2 separate regions of the Homo sapiens genome follow, and region 2 is linked to region 1. The links are contacts of gene promoters, found by promoter capture Hi-C in blood cells and fetal thymus (Javierre and others, 2016). All regions are on one chromosome and are shown on one strand. Each heading gives the region's core, a stretch centred on a gene start or on the middle of the fragment in contact. The rest is flanking DNA. Distances are from core to core; before and after follow the strand shown.

What was found. Contacts are between HindIII fragments. The CHiCAGO score rates a contact against its expected background, and 5 or more counts as called.
Region 2: the fragment with the promoter of CDCA5 here is called in contact with the fragment with the promoter of SF1 in region 1 in 1 of 17 cell types (M2 macrophages); the score reaches 6.5 in M2 macrophages.

Annotation. Positions count from the first base shown.
Region 1 is chr11:64,776,929-64,780,012 of GRCh38, forward strand. It overlaps SF1 (splicing factor 1), which reads right to left and starts at 1,614. Exons shown (of 13, transcript NM_004630.4): 1 at 1,434-1,614. The coding sequence starts at 1,464. RefSeq lists silencers at 759-1,068, 1,329-1,728 and enhancers at 1,391-1,992, 1,969-2,078. The HindIII fragment of the contact is 14,384 bases long and covers 425-3,084 here.
Region 2 is chr11:65,082,426-65,085,509 of GRCh38, forward strand. It overlaps CDCA5 (cell division cycle associated 5), which reads right to left and starts at 1,615. Exons shown (of 6, transcript NM_080668.4): 1 at 1,508-1,615; 2 at 1,204-1,298; 3 at 1,060-1,125; 4 at 939-974. The coding sequence starts at 1,553. It overlaps ZFPL1 (zinc finger protein like 1), which reads left to right and starts at 1,797. Exons shown (of 8, transcript NM_006782.4): 1 at 1,797-1,953; 2 at 2,266-2,375; 3 at 2,690-2,801. The coding sequence starts at 2,274. RefSeq lists enhancers at 1,347-1,576, 1,657-1,926, 2,516-3,084. The HindIII fragment of the contact is 9,431 bases long and covers 1-3,074 here.

The DNA.
Region 1 (3,084 bases), core at 364-2,863:
TAGATACTACATCAACCATGAGTGCTCTGAAATCCCCAGGGGAGACAAAAATACACTGAAGAATCATAGATTTGTAAAGCAGTCCTGATGGGACTGGGGGCTCCACCCACCTCCACTCCCCTCACCAGTCACTTTTGTACGAGAGGCCGGACCACAACTAAACCTAGTTACACCCTACCAAGTGGGAAAAGCCCAATTCTTCAACAAGATCACCTTTGTCTTCATAAGTTTAGCCAAGATCAGCATTCAGTTTTCCTGGCCAGTTGGACACTGAGGGTCTGAACTCTTAAAAGGATCTATCAAAAATTCAACAACCTATACAATAGCAGCCAAGTTCTCCTTTCCCCGTACATAGGCAGAAACTCCCTACATTTGCCACAAAAGAGTCCTTCTATTTCCCAAGGGGTACAGGATCAGAGGGAAAAGCTTTTTAAAACAAAGCGACAGGGCAGCCGATCAGACTGAGATCTAAACATACTGAACAGATTTAAAAAAAAAAACAAACTAAAATTCTCTCCCCAAAAGAGACCAAGAAAGATCAGACCCAACCATCATCTGAAGCATGCCAACCTCTCCCGGATGAAAACCCTGCCTTGCTGTAGAAGCAGAGGAGCTATCCTTGGTACGGTTCCCATTCTGGTTCCTCAAGACCAGAAGGGAGTCGCTGCACGTCATCAGGTGAGGCTTTCACGCCCTGCTGGCATTCACAGCTAGCACCCCGTCCAGCGCTGAACACCCGCCACCCCTGTTCCCGACACCAGCGGACTGGACAGCAATAGTGGGCCCCCAGTCTATACAGTTGCGCCGCACAGCCCGGCCACCTCACTGCGTCTGCGCACAGAGCGCCTCCCGCCCGCCCAGCCCTCCCCCCACAGCGCGCGTGCGCACTCGAGGCCCTAGAACCAGGCCGCGCGCGCCCAGGGGCGCCTCCGCCCGGGCCTCCCCGTGCGCGCACGCGCGCCCCTGCCGCGTGCAGCCGCCGTCGCCGCCGCCGCGCGCCCCTCAGGCGGCCGGGCCCGTCCGCGCGACGCCTCTCGCGCTCTCTCGGCCCGACTCACCTCCTCCGCCGCCGGCCGGGCCCGGCTGCTGGTCCTTACGCGGCGGCTGGGGTGGCGGCGGCTGCGGCGGCGACACGCGCTGGTAGAGCGGCGGCGGAGGGGGCGGCTGCGGCGGCGGGTACGAGGCGCCGGGGGACGGTGGCGGTGGAGGCGGCGGCGGCTGCTGGGGAGGCGGAGGGGGCGGCGGCGGAGGCGGCGGAGGCAGCGCCGCGAAGGGGAAGGCCGCGGTCAGGGCCCCCATCGAGCCCACGGGCGGGGGCGGCGGCGGCCCGGGAGCCAGCAGCCCCGCCCCAGGCCCGGGTGCAGGCGGAGGGCCCGGCTCGAAGCCTCCTTTGGGCCCGGGGAGCGGGGGCAGCCCGGGGGGGCCCAGCTTACCCAACGGCGTGGCGTTCGCTCCGGTCGCCATGGCGCCCCCGGGGACAGGCACCGGCACCTGCTTTTCCTCTGCGGCGGCTTCTCCTTCGCAAGCCTCCCGGGGGGAGGGGACCCGAATGCGCTGCCGGAGCGCGCGGAGCCCGTCCTCTCACGCGGCGGGCGGCGGCGGCGCGAGACGCACAAAGAGGGAGGAGAGAGGGCACCGCGGGGGCGGGCCGGGGGCGGCGGGGCCGGGGCCTGGATTGGGCCGGGCCGAGGCGAAGGGTCGAAATCGGCGGCCTCCGATTGGCGGAGCCTCAGTCCTTCTTGATGCGCGCTGGGATTGGCCGAACCGTTAGGCCAAGCGAGGAAATGGCGGCGGAGTTCGGTGGGCTGGGAGGTGTCGCAGCGCGCACTTCATTTGTTACTGCGTGAACTGAGCTCCGAGTCCAGAAAGGAGGGGATGGGGTGGGGCGAACTCTATGACGGAGCGACGGCGAGCTCTCTCATTGGCTGCGGTGGTGGACTCAATCAATCTCGCCTGCGTTGTAGTGTCGCGGGATTGGCTGTCGCTGGTTCCAGCCTTTTTCTACTCCCCTCCCCCAGGGGGCAGTTTCTCCGGGATTAAGCGAGAGTCGCGGCGGAAAAGGCCCAGCCGGAACGAGATTTACGGCGGGGGAGTCCTGGAGCAGGAAGTGCGCATGCGTAGATGGAGCAAAACCGCCTCTCCACCCGTCTCCCTTCACCATCGACCCTTGGGTCCAGCAAGGAAGCCCTAAGTGACGTCAACCTTTGTTCCCATGGTAACGCAGAACCTTGGGGCGGGAGCAGGGGAGGGGCTGGCGCGCGCCGGAAAACCGGCTCAGTTGACGCTGCAGGTAAAAAGACTTCCTGTTTTTTTGGAAAAAAAAAAAAAAAAAAAAAGTGACCCAAAAAGCTACGAATAGAGACGACTTATCGAAGGATTTAAAACAGTATTTGAACTGATGCAACAACATATTAGATGAAAGGTAACAGAAGGTTGTCAGTTCAAAAATTACAAATACACACTTCTATTGGAATCTCCACGGAGTTCAGAGGATTTAATTAAATGATCTTAAAATCGTATAAAACAATAACTACGGCCGGGCGCGGTGGCTCACGCCTGTAATCCCAGCACTTTGACAGGCCGAGGCGGGCGAATCACAAGGTCAGAAGGTCGAGACCAGCCTGACCAACATGGCGAAACCCCGTCTCTACGAAAAATACAAAAATTAGTTGGGTGTAGTGGTGCACTCCTGCAATCCCAGCTTCCCAGGAGGATGAGGCAAGAGAATCGCTTGAACCCGGGAGGCGGAGGTTGCAGTGAGCCGAGATGGGGCCACTGCACTTCAGCCTGGGTGACAGAGCGAGACTGTCAAAAATAAAAATAAAAATAACTACTACAGTACTGGGAAAACTTTACAAGACGGAGCAGGAGCTTGCCTTTCCAGATGACAAACATAGTATATAAAACACAATAGGCCAGTGCCAAGGCACTGGGAGGCCAAGGCGGGGGGATCACCTGAGGTCAGGAGTTCGAGACCAACCTGACCAACACGGTGAAACCCCCGTCTCTACTAAAAGTACAAAAATTAGCCGAGCGTGGTGGCAGACGCCTATAATCCCAGCTTCTCAGGAGGCTGAGGCAGGA
Region 2 (3,084 bases), core at 365-2,864, 310 kb after region 1:
ATGGCTTCTTTGACCTGGAACAAACCTACTTGTCTTTTTTTTTTTTTTTTTTTTTGAGATGGAGTCTCGCTTTGTCACCCAGGCTGGAGTGCAGGGGCGTGATCTCGGCCCACTGCAACCTCCGCCTCCTGGGTTTAAGCGATTCTCCTGCCTCAGCCTCCTGAGTAGCTGGGACTATAGGCACGTGCCACCATGCCTGGCTAATTTTGTATTTTTAGTAGACACAGGGTTTCACCACGTTGGCCAGGCTGGTCTTAAACTCTTGACCACAAGTGATCTGCCCGCCTCAGCCTCCCAAAATGCTAGGATCACAAGCGTGAGCCACTGCACCCGGCCTCTACTTGTCTTTAAAGACTCAGTTCAAATGTTTCTTCTTCCACGAAACATTCCCTGAGCCACATGGTCTGGGTTAGCTACCATCATAGCATCTAGTATTCCTTATTGCAGTCCCAGTACACAACGTTGCTATCACTTGTCATTGGTCTTTCTCCCCAGTTGACTCTAAGCCCTATCAGCTCTTCAAAGGAGTTCACATTTCTCAGTCAGTATGTCTTCAGATTGTCTATTAATGAAACATCCTTTGATAATAACTTCTGCTAAAACTGTAAAAATGTCATACACATGACTTATCTCAGAACACCCATACATGAAAGCTGAAGGCATAATGGATTAGAAAGGCAGTACGTGGAGTTAAGACATAGCTCAGCTTTTAAAGGAAGTTCCAGGAAAATGGTAGAAATACACAAGGCATAAAAAGTTAAGTGTATTAAGTCTTCAGGGAGTAATCAAGACTGGCAATGCATGCAGGTGCCCACAGGCAAACTGTTTTTGCAGTACTGCAAAACAGCTCCCTGGGCAGATGTGAGGAGCCAATGTGTGCTGTCCAGCTCTAGAGTGACCCAGATTCTACTTAATTAAGTAGATGAAAGTGAACTCACCCTAGGGCTCCTGCGAGGTGATTGGACAGCTGGGACCTGCGGGGGACAATACCAATTGATCACATAGCTGGTCCCCAGTTTTGCCCGCCTAACCACCCACAACACTCTCCTTAGCCTTTACCTCTACAGCATGGGCCACGATCCTCTTTAAGACGATGGGCTTTCTGACTGCAGCCGCACTGGGTGTCTGGAGAAGAGGGATGAACGTGAGCTCAACATTAGGTGAGGGGCCACAAGGGGAGGAAGTGAGAAATCTGGGGCTCACCTTCGGCCAGATTTCAGGGAGGATGCTCGGGAGTTCAGAGCCTGATTTCCGCTGGGACCTCCGCAGAGGCTTAGTAGGAGATGGGGCCCTTGGCCCTGGAAAGAGAAAAAAGTTAAGTGGTAGAGGAGGACTCTAGACCTTAGAGTCCAGAGAACAGGTTCTAGAGACAGCGAGAAGATTCCCAAACAAGCCCTTTTAAGGGCGCCTCCTCCGGCGGCGGCAGCGGGAGGGAAGAGGCCATCTTTCACCGGACTGCGTCCCCCAAACGGCTCGACCTCACGTCTCCCGCGCGCCCTCCGCTCACCGGAGCGCTGAGCGGCTCCTCCGGACCGCGTTCGCCTCCCAGACATAACTTAGGCTCCGTCTCGAGCTCCTCCAGCGCCGCCGCCCCGGGCGCGCGCCAACCGGGAAGGCCACTCGCTGCAAAAAACGTTCGAATTACCCGCCCTGCGGGAAAGGAAGCGGAAGTGACGTAGGGCTAGCGGTCTGCGGCCCTCGGAACCCCGAGTCTTTTCCACCCGTCTTCACCTCTAGCGGCAGCGGAGGCGTGGCCCAGGGGCGCGATGGCGTCATCAGCGCGCGCCGCACCCGGAAGAGACGTGGCAGCGGAGGGATAATCGGGGCGGCCGGGGCTGAAGGGAGAGGCGCAGGAGCCCTGGGGAGAGTGGTCCCTGCCCTTCCGCGCCTCGAGCCATCGCTACCGCCCTTCGGAACCAGTGCAGCGGCCGATCAGTAAACACAGAGACTGGGGTCTGTAGAGAAGGGGCGGGACTTGGAGGGGGTGGGGCTCAGGAGAGGTCTTGGGGGCGGGGCCGGTAGTATCGGGGAGCCTCTGATGGAGGGGCCTGGCCGGGGGCGGGATCCAGAAGGATTGAGGGGTCGCCGGAGGCGGGATTTATGCAGGGGGTGTTTCTCCGCATAAGGAGGGACAGTGGGCAGGAATCTGAGATCGGGGCGAATATGAGAGGTGTCTGGGGGAGTTAAGAGTGGAAACTGGGCTGGTGAGAGCGTAGTGGTGGCCACCAGAACCTGACTTCCTACCAACTCATGCCCCTTTCCCAGGATCGATCATGGGGCTTTGTAAGTGCCCCAAGAGAAAGGTGACCAACCTGTTCTGCTTCGAACATCGGGTCAACGTCTGCGAGCACTGCCTGGTAGCCAATCACGCCAAGGTGGGGCCTTCAGGGGAGCGACTGAGCAGGGCACTGGGTGGGCAAGGCGGTATTGGCTTCCTCCAAATCCATGAGGGGCCCCGCGCTAGAATGTAAGCCCCACAAGGGCAAGGACTTGATTTATTTTGTTCACTGATATATCCCCCGTTCCCAAGAGAGAGTCTGGTGCACAGTATGTGCTCAATAAATATTTATTGATTAAACAAACGAAAGGATGAGTCTCCTCTGTGGCTAGAGAAAAAGAGACAGTCGGACCTTGGGGTGATAGGCCGAGCAGCCCCAGCACCAGTTGTGACATCTCTCTCCCACTCCAGTGCATCGTCCAGTCCTACCTGCAATGGCTCCAAGATAGCGACTACAACCCCAATTGCCGCCTGTGCAACATACCCCTGGCCAGCCGAGAGACGACCCGCCTTGTCTGCTATGGTGAGGCCTTGGCACCTCGGGGGGATCAGGCCAGCCTCAGGGGCCAGCTTGGTGACTGGTTTCCAGGCCCTCCTCAAGCAGCAGGACAGTGAGTCCCCCGAGTCTCAGAGCCCAGATTCTAGTCCTGTTAAAGTTCCTTACCTGCTGTGTAAGTTCAGGCAAGTTATTCTTCCTTTCTAGGCCTCACTGTCTTTCCTAAAAATTAAAGCTCCTAGTTCCTCTTTCCTAAAAATTAAGCCCTGCCAATCTGGAGGTTTCAGCGAGAACCAGTCAAGCTTACGGG